Regions from separate parts of the Homo sapiens genome. Here region 2 is linked to region 1. Evidence: promoter capture Hi-C in 16 types of primary human blood cells and fetal thymus (Javierre and others, 2016). All regions are on one chromosome and are shown on one strand. The core of a region is centred on a gene start or on the middle of the fragment in contact, and the rest is flanking DNA. Distances in the headings are between cores, read along the strand shown.

What was found. Contacts are between HindIII fragments. The CHiCAGO score rates a contact against its expected background, and 5 or more counts as called.
Region 2: a fragment that was not itself captured here is called in contact with the fragment with the promoter of PSAP in region 1 in 1 of 17 cell types (neutrophils); the score reaches 5.1 in neutrophils.

The regions. Positions count from the first base shown.
Region 1 is chr10:71,846,786-71,853,728 of GRCh38, reverse strand. It overlaps PSAP (prosaposin), which reads left to right and starts at 2,478. Exons shown (of 14, transcript NM_002778.4): 1 at 2,478-2,547. The coding sequence starts at 2,508. RefSeq lists enhancers at 2,267-2,797, 2,798-3,328, 3,720-4,219. The HindIII fragment of the contact is 9,568 bases long and covers 1-4,532 here.
Region 2 is chr10:71,715,103-71,722,045 of GRCh38, reverse strand. The region is part of intron 28 of CDH23 (cadherin related 23); the gene reads right to left. It overlaps C10orf105 (chromosome 10 open reading frame 105), which reads left to right and starts at 2,268. Exons shown (of 2, transcript NM_001164375.3): 1 at 2,268-2,419; 2 at 5,704-6,943. The coding sequence starts at 5,709. The coding sequence ends at 6,110. RefSeq lists an enhancer at 2,131-2,879 and a silencer at 4,796-4,993. The HindIII fragment of the contact is 9,488 bases long and covers 950-6,943 here.

The DNA of each region.
Region 1 (6,943 bases), core at 1,229-3,728:
CCCAGCACTTTGGGAGGCCAAGGCAGGCAGATCACTTCAGGTCAGAGTTTGAGACCAGCCTGGTCAACATGGTGAAATCCTGTCTCTACCAAAAAATACAAGAAAACTAGCCAGGTGTGGTGGCGTGCACCTGTTATCCCAGCTACTCTGGAGGCTGAGGCAGGAGAATTGCTTGAACCTGGGAGGTAGAAGTGGCAGTGAGCTGAGATCGCACCATTGCACTCCAGCCTGGGTGATAGAGTGAGCCTCCATCTCCAAACAAAAAACAAAACAAAACAAAACAAAACAAAACAAAAAAAACAAGTCCTGGTTCAGGCTCTGTTGTTAACCAGCCCTGAGATGTCAGTAGCTCTATAAGATGAGAGGGGATGATCTGAGGTCTCTGAGCGTCCTTTTGGCTTGGGGTCCTGTAACCTCTGCATGGAGCACTGGGATGCTTTGCTCCTCCATCTGCAAGGAGCTGAAGGATGGGGGATTTGTCCTAGAGCCCCAGCTCCCTTGCTTTTTTTGTTTGTTTTTTTTTTGAGACGGAGTTTCGCTGTTGTTGCCCAGGCTGGAGTGCAGTGGCACGATCTCGGCTCACTGCAAGCTCCGCCTCCCGGGTTCACGCCATTCTCCTGCCTCAGCCTCCCGAGTAGCTGGGACTACAGGCGCCCGCCACATCGTGCGGCTAATTTTTTGTATTTTTAGTAGAGACGGGGTTTCACCCTGTTAGCCAGGATGGTCTCGATCTCCTGACCTCGTGATCTGCCTGCCTCGGCCTCCCAAAGTGCTGGGATTACAGGCGTGAGCCACCGCGCCCGGCTAGCTCCCTTGCTTTTAACCAGTTGTTGTGTGGTCTGCCCCACGCTTCTGCCTGGCCTTGGGAAGCCCAAAGGTGGAGCAGCCACGAAGTCTCCATCTGGCCACTGAGGCCGACCTGTGAGGCGTCCAGTTGAGACCACATCTTGTCCCAACTCACTCAGCTGCCTCACATGGCCCACTGTGGTGCATGGGGCACACTTCCCCATCTGGCTCCCCAGAGGAAGTCAGAGCTGTGGTGGGGGCTGGGGGCACTTAGGGAGATTGCAGGGGAGCAGAACTGAAGGTTCTGAGGCCTTAGTCCCTGGGGTTGTTCTCCAGAGCGGATTGCAGATTGGAGGAAGTTGGAGGAACTGTAGGTTTGCCCTTCCTGGGTCAGGAAACCTGGCTTCGGGCCAGGTTCTATCTCTACCTGTTGTGTGACCTTGGATAAACGTCTTGCCCTCTCCTAGGCTCAATGTCCCTACAGGTAAATGACCTCTAAGTGCCTGCCCTAAGGGGCTAAGATTCCCCTCCTTTCCCTGCCTTGCGGTTGGCAGGTTCTTATCCTTCTGGAGAGGGTCATCATCATTCTCTGTTCAGGTCCTGGCAGGGGCAGCCACAGGCAGAGGGTCTTTGGGTCTTAATTTCTGAAGGCTTCCATGTCACATAAAACGTTGATTACATAAATTTGTTATGCTTTTCTCTTAAGCTGTCTCGTTACAGGAGTGTTGGTTGTGACTCTTATGATCTCTTATGATGGGTGAGGAATGGTATTACATCTTTAACGGTACCACAATGTGAGGCTTAAAAGTTTTTTGTTTTTTTTTTTTTGGTGATGGGAATCTCTCTCGCTCTGTGGTCCAGGCTGCAGTGCAGTAGTGCGATCTTGACTCACGGCAACCTCCACCTCCCGGGTTTAAGCAATTTTCCTGCCTCTGCCTCCTGAAATAGCTGGAACCACAGGCGAGCGCCACCACGCCTGACTAATTTTTGTATTTTTAGTAGAGACAGGGTTTCACCATATTGGCCAGGCTGGTCTTGAACTCCTGACCTCATGATCCGCCCGCCTCGGCCTCCCAAAGTGTTAGGATTACAGGAGTGAGCCAGCATGCCCAGCCCAGACTTGCCTTTGACCAGGTGCCACCACCTGCCCCCACGTGCCCCTGGCCAGGACTGAGCCCTGTACCCTGTTACACGACTACTTATTCTATGTGAAACCCCAAGCTATTCTATGTGAAACCCGCTACTACAATGGGCTAATTTTTTTGTATTTTTTTTTTTGTAGAGATGGGGTTTCACCACGTTGCCCAGGCTAGTCTTGAACCCTCCGCCCGCCTCGGCCTCCCAAGTGTTGGGATTACAGGCGTCAGCCACCGCGGCCGGCCAACAATGTGGAGATTTAAAAGGTATTTTACATATATAATCTCTGACCTATTCAATTAGTAGGGCTTTTCTTTTATGACCTTTCCCTTCCCTTTCTCCAAGTTCTTCCTCACTCCTCCCCATAGCCCTTCCTTTCGCCCCTCCCATTGCCCCCTCCTATTGGCCTCCCCTTCGCGCAGGCGCCCTCAGAGGCGCTGAGTCAGGGCGCTGTTGAGCTCGGGCAGGCCCGGATGGGGCGGGGTTAGCGCCTGCGCTCTGGACGGCTTTGGGGCAGGGCAGATTTATATCTGCGGGGGATCAGCTGACGCTCCGCATTGCAGACTGCGGAGTCAGACGGCGCTATGTACGCCCTCTTCCTCCTGGCCAGCCTCCTGGGCGCGGGTAAGCCCTGGGACCCTCATCCTGGGGAGGAGGTGCCTCGCAGCGTCCATCTGCCCCAGAATGGGCTGTGCCGGGCCTGGCCCCTCTGCTCCCCCTGCCCTAGTTGGCAAGGGGGCGCGCGCACTGCGCAGGCGCGTTCGCTGGCTTTCTCTGGCTTTCTCTGGGCGGCTGGGGGCTGCGGGGGGCGGGCTGCGAAAATGCCCCCGGGAGGACGGCCCAGGCCCTGGGCAGCATCTCCTTCGGGGCTCGAGTGGGTTCCTGCGCGGCTGGGGCCCCGAGGCCTTCCCTCAGGCTGCGCTTCCCACTGTGGGGGTGGGTGAGTCTTGTAGGGTGACCCCTTGGGCAGCTGTGTTGTGCCTGTGCTGGGCGCACGTGATCGAGGTGGGCTGGAGCCCCGTCCCGCAGGACACTTTGGCCGTTGGCTTCAGTTGCCTGTTTGTAAGGGTAGCGAAGCTGCAGGAAGCACATGTGTATCATCTATATTGACGTTTGCATATGTATTTACTCTGGATTCTAGGTGTTGACAAAACGAGTCAAACTCTGTAAAAATATTTTGAGATTTATTCTGAGGCAAATATGAGTGACCATGGCCCGTGACACAGCCCTCAGGAGGTCCTGAGAACATGTGCCTAAGGTGGTTGGGATACAGCTGGGTTTTACATATTTTCGGGAGGCACGAGACATCAATCAAATACATTTAAGAAATACGTTGGTTTGGTTCAGAAGGGCGAAACAACTCAAAGCGGCGGGGGGCTTCCAGGCCATAGGTAAATTTAAACATTTTCTAGTTGATAATTGGTTGAGTTTATCTGAAAACCTAGAATCAATAGAAAGAAAGTATTCAAGTTAAGATAAAGGATTGTGGAGACCAAGTTTTATTGTGCAGAGGAAGCTCTCAGGTAGCCGACTAAGAGAGCGAGCACGTTGTAAAATATTTCTATGGAAATGAAAGGGTGACTGGCTCTTAGTTGATTATCTCCTGGATCTGGAGAGGAAGGAAGGAAAACATAGGGGAAAGGGGATTCTCTATAGAATGTGGATTTTTCCCACAAGAGACTTTGCAGGGCAATTTCAAGGTATGGCAAGGAAATATATTTTGGGGTTAGATATTTTGATTTTTTTTTCCTTGTCTTATAAAATGTTATGCCAGAGTCAGATTGGAAAGTAAGTCACGATATATGGGGTCAAATAAAACCCATCTGATGAGAGTTTATGGTTTGTAGGGTATGATTCCTACACCCCTTAGATAGGAATTTGGGCAAGCTAAAAAAAATCGGAGCTTAATTCTCATAGGTATTGAAGGCGATATAGGGTTTTCTGGTCCAGTTATTTTGCCATGGGGTCCTCATTTCACTTGCTTTGAAATGTCTTGCATCTGGGTGCGGTGGCTTATGCCTGTAATCCCAGCACATTGGGACACCGAGGTGGGAGGATCGCTTGAGCCTAGGAGTTGGAGACCAGCCTGGGCAACATAGCAAGACCCCACCTGTGAAAAAAAGAAAAAGAGAAAAGAAAGTCTTGCACGCTATTGGCCGTTTTTTTTTTGTTTGTTTGTTTTGTTTGTTTGTTTGTTTTTTGAGACGGAGTTTCGCTGTTGTTGCCCAGGCCGGAGTGGTGCAATGGCGTAGTCTCGGCTAACTGCAACCTCCGCCTTCCGGGTTCAAGCCATTCTCCCGCCTCAGCCTCCCAAAGTTCTGGGATTACAGGCGTGAGACACCGCACCCAGCCCCCACCACAATGTCTGTTTTTTAGTAACTATATGTAGTTTAAGGGCTGGCTGCCATTTTTAACCTAGCTACCCAAATTTTAATAAAAAGTAACAAAGTGGATGACAGGGTTGATGCAAAACCGAAGAAATGAGTTAGCTTTCAGCAGCTCTCAAGAATGTATCTTGACCCTATACGAAGCTCTTAAATTTGTTTTACTTGTACACAATGAAAGATGATCTGCTTATAAAAAAATCATTTTGATTTTATACTCAAGCTTATACTGCAGTTATTCCATGGTCTGTATAATAAACTAATGCTGGTCTCTAAATTTTTTATACTGATTCAGGGCAATTTTTTTTCTTTCTTTTTACATTATCCATTGTTCTTGTTGACGTTGAGTCACTCCTCACAAGACCCTTAAGAGTTCTGATTCATTCACATCACCCAAAAGGGACTCAATCGTGTCTCGGGAAATATAAAATCCACCTCTGGTATATATGGGCTTATGGTTAACCACAATATTTAGTTAACCAAGGGACCCTCTTCCGTGAACACTCGGGTAAATGGGAGGTATTGTAATGGCCTTGGTTTAACTTTGCTGTCCTACCTTTAGGATTAGGCCAAAGTCAGTGCTGATAACAGTGTTTGAATGCTCCCTGGCCTTCACAGCTCTGGCCCCTTTGTGATATTGTGAAAATGTTACTCCTAAAATTTCTAGACATGATAATGAGTTTTGTTAGTGAAAGTGCCTGGTGACTGCAGCCATTGTCTGCTGCCCGAGAGGCACTTAGAACTTTCTTCGTGACACTGTCGTAGTACAGAATGCCACCCTGAATCGGGATGGGCTTTGTATTTTGTGTTTCAGTGATGTCCTGGTGGTAGAGACACTTGCTTTTGAGTTACTTTTCTGCCCATCCAGCTGCCCCTCCTTTTTCCCCACCTAAAAGCGAAAGCAAAGCCATGGCACCATGAGAGAATTGGAGAGCATGTAATCTGACCCCTTTGTAAGGAATGAAGACCTGGAGGTGCCCAGAGGTGACTCTCCCAAATCATAGACCATTTACTGGGGATGCCAGGACCAGAACCCAAGACTCCACAGTGCTCGCTTTTTCCATATCCCTCTGTCCACATGGACCTCTTAACTTTTAAAAACTTAGTGTAAGTTACATACGTGGACGATTAAGTAGACAACTTGATGAATTACCACAAAGTGAGCAGCCCCCGAGGTTGGGGAGCAGTGCAGTAGCATCCAGAGGCCCCTGTTCACCCATTCACTGCCCTGTCCCACTTGCCCCGAAGGAAACATTGTTAACCTTTGAACACCATAGATGTGAAGGCTGCAGTTTCGATCTTTTACAAATGGGATCATGGAGGGTATTGCTGTTAGGTGAGTCCTCTGGTGGAAAAAGGAGCGTGTTCATCAGCTAGGTGTAAGGCATGAGGGATGGTGCCTGGGATGTGGCAGGTGCTCCCTGAAGCTTAGATGCCCTGATAGCTGTCAGCTGTGTGGTGGCTAGCCTGCTGAATGTTGTCTACACCACGCTAAGACAGTTATGTTTTCTGGGGATGCTAGAAGGTGTTATATATATTCTTTCAATAACATGTGAATTTATAGCCTGGCCTGCTGAATATCAGTAGGAACTTCAGGTCTTGGCCTGTCAGGGATTTTGGATAAATCTCCTGTTTATTAATAGTAAATCAGTTTTATTCTGTGAAAATAAGAGTATAATTCCTGAAGAAAGAAGGGTTTGTTTTAACAAATCAGTGATTTGTCAAGTCCTTGAAGTACATTTGACAGGTTGTTTTGTTTCTTTTTTTTTTTTTTGGAGCAGAAAGTTTAATAGGCAGAAGAAAGGAGAAAGGAGAGCAGCTCTCTCTTGTGAGAGAGAGGCATCCGAAAGGGAGAAGCCTGACAGGTTGTTATTGAGATGGGAGTCTTGCTCTGTCCCCAGGCTGGTGTGCAGTGGCGCGATCTCGGCTCACTGCCACTTCCGCCTTCCGGGTTCAAGCGATTTTCCCACCTCTGCCTCCCGAGTAGCTAGGATTATAGGTGCCCACCACCATGCCTATAAAATCCACCTCTGGTATATATGGGCTTATGGTTAACCACAATATTTAGTTGACCAAAGGACCCTCTTCCCTGAACACTCGGGTAAATGGGAGGTAATTTTTTGTATTTTAGTAGAGATGGGGTTTCACCATGTTGGCCAGGCTGGTCTTGAACTCCTGACCTCAAGTAATCCGCCTGCCTCGGCCTCCCAAAGTGCTGGGATTACAGGTGTGAGCCACCGCACCCGGCCCTGACAGGTTGTTTTGAGAACAAACTATGAGAGTTGAAGTGTGTTGGATTGATTGGTGTGGCATTTTGTAGATGAGGGAAAGGAGAACTTGGTCTTCCATTTTCTTGGTGAGTGAGACCATGGGATGTCCAGGCAGCTGTGGGGAAGTGGAAGGGTAGGGCGGGGTGTTGCTGGCTGGGAACAGCACCTAATGAGGCATGCTTAGGAAGTTCTCAAGGCCAAGACCAAAGCCACTTAGACAGGTGTGCATGGCAGCTTTGGAGGCAGCTTCTAGCAGAGATTCTAGGTTACTGGCTACCAGGCTGTAAGCCTTGCTTTCTGGCTCCTTTTTGGTTCTGCCACCAGGAAGGAGGGTCTGGATATTCTTCAGATCAATGAAAGAGAGTA
Region 2 (6,943 bases), core at 4,444-6,943, 130 kb after region 1:
GCTAGCAAAGATCAAGAAAGCAGTGAAGGTGGGATTGGCTGAAGGTTTCCAAAGGAGGGAGCTGGGTTTGGAAGGATGGAGGAAACCTGGCTTAGCAGAGAAGGTTGGGAAGAACATTTGTGCTGGGAAACAGTGTTAGCTGAAGTAGAGGCAGCTGGGGAGGCTAAGGAAGGAACTAGGACCCCAGTCTGGAGTGAAGGGCTCATGCAGGGACAGCAGAGGGCTGTGGTTGGAAGAGTGGAATGACAGCCTCAATCAGCAGCACTGATGCCCTGGAACCTCCACAGGACAGGGAGTATAGACATGGTGGTATGAAGGCAGAGCGAGGAGCCTGTAGCAGGCGCTGGCCTCGATGCACATCCGGGCACTGCGGTAAGTGTGTCTAAGGATTCTGATGAGCATGTTGATGGTGGGGAGGAGGACGAGTACACTGGAGCAAAAAGAACAAGGGCCCTGGGTCAGGCACACCCAAGCATGAATTTAGGCTTTGTCACTTACTCTCTATGGCACTATGGATAAGTACTTTAGCCCCCTTGAGCCTCAGTTTTCTCATCTCTAGACTGGGCACAATGATGACCAGCCTTGCAGGGTTGAGGGGAAGATCAGAAGTCATCTTGCAAAGCGTCTTGGCTGGTGCCTAGCATGGGGATGTGTGGTGAAGGTCAACATGAGTGATGCCACCTTCTCCAGAGAGCCCTCTGGATTTATGCCAGAGCTGGGGATGGCTGGATTGCCCCTTGCCGTGCAGTTCTTTCTCTCTCCATTCCCTGAGAAACCTTAGGAGCTGGCAGGTGGAGGGATGTAACAGGGTGCTTCAATTGTCCAGATCTGGAAGGGCTCAGGATGGTGAAGAGAGCCACGTTGCCCAGAGCATGCCCTTGCATGCCTATCCATGGTGAGATTTCCTTGATGCCTCCCTGCTCCAGCAGCCTGCACCACCCTGGAAGCTTTGTCTTCTGTCATCTCAGGAGGAATGGGGGCCACAGATGAAGTGTTCAGTTGGTTTCAGGAGAGGAAGTTAAGGAAAATGAAGGCAGTGAATGCTGTGATGGAAGGTGCAGGAATCCCAATGGGGACTCTGGGCATTGAAAACACCTTTGGGCCGGATGCTTTGCCTACCCTGGATGCCTACTGCCTGCCCCTGCCCACCCAGCACAGGGGAAACACCAAGTCCCCCACCACTCACTTGCTGGGTGCCCCTGGGCAGGTCACACCTCTCTGGGCCTCAGTTTGGTCATCTGAGAGAAGACGGGGGCTCTTTTCTCTCAGAAGAGGAGTTAGATGACCCCTGAGGACCTCTCCAGCTTTAACAGTCCATAGGAAATCTCTTGTCCATCTTGGGGTTGGCAGACAGTGCCTCTTTTTATGGGCAAGGGCAGGAGGGAACAGCTAAAAACCAGAAACTGGGGCTCCAAAAAAGGGAATGGGTCTGAGGCTCAGGTCTTGGACAGGGCCATGACTCCTGTCTTGAGTTGCATTTCTGGGAGCTTGGAGGTCCCTGGTGGGGAAGCTGCCAAAGACTTGGGCTCCTAAGCAGGCAGCTGGTTGTCAGGGAAGCTCTGGCTTCTGGGGAGAAAGAAGGCTGGGGGAGGGAAGTGTGTGTGTGTGTGTGTGTGTGTGTGTGTTTTGGAAAGAGCCTCCAGTGGAGGTCTCCCGTGGCCCACCCGCACTGTGGGGAGCATGGCCTTGGAGGTCCGTCAGTCCTATGCTTTCTGCCCTGGGATCCCCCTGACCTTTGAAGATGCCCCTCACCCCTCGCTTCTGTAGCCAGACACCTTCAAAGGGAAGGTGCTTTTCTACAAGCTGAGGGAAAAGCCTGGAAGGAATGGGGCCCAGGGACGCTGCAGGAGGGGCCTCAGGGGCTGCCAGGGACCAGCACTCTCCCTGCTCCCCTCCTGCCATGGCTTGTAGCCCCTCTCCAGGGTAACCTGGTGGCTGGCAGGCACTGAATAGCGAACCTCTGGCTGCCGCCGACCATACCATTCAAACTTCCGACAGGGGAAGGTGAGCGCCATGGGGCCGCAGAGGCAGTAAAACCCTCCCCCTGCGTCTCCCCAGAGTCTTCCACCCCTGAGAGGGCTCCAAGGAGACAGGCTGGAGAGAGGCGGTGGGAAGGCCAGGGGGCATCCCAGAGTCTCTGGACAGCTCCCCTCTCCCTCTTCCCAACCCAGTTGCCATCCCTACTCCCTTAGCTATCCCCTCCCCCAAGGCAGGGCCCAAACTCTTCTAGACAAAGCCAGGTCCAGCTGGGGAGTGACGGGGAGGCCACTCTGCTGGCCAGGCTGACCGAGGGCTGCAGGGCACAGCAGAGCCTGGCAGGGCTGGGGTCACAGGCACTGCCCAGGGCTCCTTGGGCCTCCCTTCCACAGCTGAGAAGACCTCTCCACGGAGCTCCGGACGGCTGGGGTCTGGCTCTGAGGTCAGTGCTTGGGGGACTGCAGGAGAAGGCTTGGAGAGGGAAGTGTGGTGGAGACCCTTGCTGGGGACTCCTGGGAGAATGTGAGGGTATGCTCAGACCTAGGCAGTCCTCTGGTTCTGTAGAGAGGGGAAACAAGGCCCAGTAAGGGGTAGGGACTAGCCCGAGGCCACACAGCAGTCTTCTCTGCCCACAGCAGGTCCTGCTCTGTGGAACTCCAAGGGAAGAGGAGGGTCCTAGACTGAGCTTGCAGAGATATGTCCAGAGCAGGGCCCGCTGGTGCACCCTGGCCCCAGTGGGAAGGGAGTGGCTTCAACTGCCCTCCAGATGATTCCTGGCCTTGGTCCGGGCAAGGCATCCTCTCCCAGTACTAGCTGGCCTTTGCTGGTTGGTCAGTAGCCGGGTGTCAAGGGGCCTGGCAGCTGGACTTGCCTCGTGCTCCAGGAAGGGTGTTGTGTTGTTTTCAAGCACTTAGGAATCTCTCGTTGCCACAGGAACTACTCAGATGCTAATTACAACTCCACTTATTTTTTTTTTATTTTTTATTTTTTTGAGACAGAGTGTTGCTCTGTCGCTCAGGCTGTAGCGCAGTGGCATGATTCTAGCTCGCTGTAGCCTCAAACTTTTGGGCTCAAATGATCCTTCTGCCTCAGCCTCCTGAGTAGCTGGGGCCACAGGCACATACTACCACACCTGGCTAATTAAAAAACCTTTTTTTTTTTTCTTTCAGAAATGAAGACTCACTATGTTGCCCAGGCTGTTCTCAAACTCCTGGGCTCAAGTGATCCTCCTGCCTTGGCCTCCCAAAGTGCTGGGATTACAGGTGAGAGCCAACACGCCTGGCCTCACTTATTTTTTAAATTAAAGCAGGTCCCAAGGCCTGAAGCCTGGATCCTATTTGCTAGCCCAGTAGGGTCTCCAGATTCCTTTGAAGGCCTTGAAATAACATTAGAACTAGTAGGATTGAGGCATCTCCCATTTCAGACTGCCCTTTTCTTACTCCTGGCCAAGCATTGTCCAGGGTAGGAGAGAGGGATGGCTGATTTTCTCCCCACGGGAATGAGCGGTGGGCACACCCCATCCCTCCTCCCTGCTCAGACTCAAGGAAAGGCCAACCCATGCACAGCTGCCCAGCCAGAGTGCTCTCTAGGCCTGATGCCGCAAAGGCGGAGGCCCTGGGCAGCTAGACGGGCATCACACTTTCCAGCCAGGCACTGGGAGGGGTCGTTTTCTGCCTGGAAGTGCTGGGAGGGGTGGTGGTGGGGAATGGGTGGGAGGTGGGGTGCTCTGCATGCCCTCAGTTGGCTGGGCGCAGGGAGCCAGGAGTGAGGTCCTGCGGCTGCTGGTGAGTGCCTGGGGTAGGGACAGGAGTCCCTCGGGTGGGGAACTAGGTGGCCCACTCCCCTCCCCACTACCTGTGGCAGGGTTTCTCTGAGCGTGACCTGACATCTTTCCTCCTCCTGAGCTTCCGTGCTAGAAACTCAACTGTTATCTAAGCTGCAAGCTGGGAAGGAGGAAAATCTGCTATCCCCCACCCTCATGAAAAGGAAAGACCCCAAGGTTAAAGGGAAATCATGACTTTTTATCAGACCCCCTGGGATTGCTTGTCCACGTCAGTAGAATTTAAATATCACACATGCTGACCTGCAAGCTGGACGTCCTCTGCTTATGTGTTTGGTTTGGCCTGTGTAGTGTTTCAAATATTTGAAAATTCATTTCACATTATTTTGAAATCAAGTTTATTTGGCTTTTGCTGTGTTCTCCCCCACCCCACCTCTCTTCTTTCTTGCCTTCAACAAATTTGAATTAGCTGCCAACATTTAAACGTCTAGAATGTTTGCCTTTAAAAAAATCCAGATTTCTGGCTTCTCTTGGGAAACTGACAGAGCTGACCACACTGGGCCTGCACTCCGGCACTGACAGCACCATTCTGGGCTGAGGCCCCTCCACTTCCTTGAGAGGGCCCAGCCAGTGCTCTCCAGGTGGCCCTGCTCATCTGTACCCTCTGGTCATGTGTTATCTGCTGGCCAGGATCTGTGAGCATTTTTATTACAACCCCAGACATATTGAGCCAAAAGCTCAGCCTGGTTTTCCATCGACAAGGACCGTCTGCTGCACTGCGTCTAATGGGATGATCTTCAGTGGGAAAGGAAATGCCCTGTCAGGTGTATGATGTCCCTGGGGGGTTTCCAGCCCCCTTGTCAACTCCTTGTGGGTTTATTTCCCACCTGTTCCCAGAGCAGCTCACTGAGCTCCGAAAGGGCTGGGGGCCAGAGGGGTGGCAAGGCCATGGGGCCAGGAGTCAGGAGACCTGCTTCTGACCTTCACTTGGCCATTGGCTCACAATGTGGCCTTGGCCTTCCCACCACCAAGCTGCCCCACCCCACCCTACTGTGACCCACAATGCAGCCAGCCAAGCCTTCCCAAGGAGTGAGCTCTGGCTTGTCACTCCCCACCTCTAAAACCTTCACTGGCTCCCTAATGCCAAATCCCCTCTTCGGACCTCAGTTTCCCACCTGTCGTGGGAGCAAGTTGGACTGCATGGGGAAGCAGTCACAGGAATCCCCACGGGGCCAGGCAGGTGAAATAAGGTGTGTGGTGGGCCTGTGGGGGAGGGTGGGGAGCTGGAGGTCAGTGCCCTGTCTACAGGGGGCAGCGGCTGCTCAGCCCCAGACACAGGGATGAGGCAGGAACATGGGCCAATGCCAGTGGTGAAATTCTGACATTTCAAGAGAATTCAGGCACCCATATATTTTTGTGAAATCTGTTATTATTTTGAAAATATTCATAATTACATTGATAAAAACATGGCAAGGACCCAACTAAACACACCCGTGGGCCCCCAGTTTGCAGCTTTGGTATTAGATTACTGCTAGGGACCCTGGCAGCTGCGGCCTCTTACCATCCATAACTCGTTCCTGGCCACAGAGCAAGTTATTGACAGAGTTGGTCTTAAGTTTCCAGGCCTAAGACCCTGTGATGATTCATGAGGATTGATTTGAAAATGCGGACAGGCCACCGCCCTCTTGTCTGCATGGCAGATGGGCACAGGGTGGAACAGGAAGAGGGCCTGAGCTTGGGCCCAGCTCCATCACTGCTCAGCTGTGTGTACACTTAGACTTGTGATGTCTCTGGACCTTGCTGTCTTAACCTGTGATGTGGCCATGATGCTGTCCAGTTTAACAGTGCCTTGCCCCCATCCACATTCCCTAGGTAAGTCTTCCCTATACCCGCTGCCCTGGGTCCAGCTGATCTGCCTTTGAGCTTCTGTCTTGTTGCTGTTGCAGGAGCCATGAGCACAGAGGGCCCCAGCCTCGCCAGCTCCCCAGCCATCAGCCCCCTCGCCTTTCTCTCAGCTCCCGTCACTCCCGGGACCCTTGCAGAGGCAACTGACCCCCTCCCCATGCTCATCGCCCTGGCCTGCATCTTCCTCCTGCTGGCCACCTGTCTGCTGTTCATGACGCTCTGCAAGCCGGCCGCGCTGGACCCGAGCCGCCGCAGGGCTCACGAGTGCATGCCCCACCACCCTGGGAGCCCCAGTGAGCCCCAGCTCCGGCTCTGGAAGCGCCTGGGCTCCTTGCGCCTCTCCCTGCACAGCTTCCGCCATGGCCGGCCCACCGTCCCTCGACAGCCCCTGCCGGGCCCCGAGGACAACCGCAGCCACTGTGACTACATGGAATCTACCAAGATGTAATGGGGTGTCCACAAACATGCCCCCACATCCCCCTAGGTCTACCTGTAGATCCTCCTGCTTCAGAGACCGGTGCTGCAGGCTGCAGGAAGACAGTGGCCCAAGCAGTCTGGGACACACACTCACCCCCCGAAGCTCCTTGCATGCCCAGGCCAGCGCCCTTTCCCAAAGATGATCCTCAGAAGAGCACCTTCCTCTCTGCAGACCCCCTCGCTGCTGCTTGATGAAAGACTTCTGGTCAAGAGATGTGCACTCGTGGTCATCTGGGCCTTTGGCCTGAGGCTCCACAGGGTACAACCTGGGGCTCGTAACCACCTCCTAGAAGCAGCACCCTCGCTCGCCACAGAAGCCTTGCCCTCCAGGTGCCAAAGCCCAGCATGGAGAAGTTGCCAAATGGCAAAGGTTCCCTTTAGTCAAGTGAAATGCTCAGCCTACACCGGGGCCAAGACACTGTCCTGGCATCTGTGCTGGCCCAGTGCTGGGGCAAAACCTCGGGGCTCTCTTCCTTGGGTTTCCCGGGTGCTGCCAGCATCTGCCTGGTGCCCTGTGGGAGCAGCTGCCTCCCTCCTGGTGGAACAGATGCCTGGGTGCCAGCTGGGAGGAGGAGCAAACAGGGCTCTCCAAGCATGGTCTTGGCAGCCGTCTTGGTGGCCCCTCTTCAGGGCACCCACGTTGGGATCAATCAGGAAGGGATTGAAGATGATCGAGGAGGCTCCCTTCAGAGGCCAGGGCGGGTGCTGTGACAGAGTGGCAAGAGGCAGGGCATTTCCAGCAGCTGGAGGTGATGCCACCTGGACTCGGAGGAGGACAGCTCACAGCAGCTCCACACCTCACCC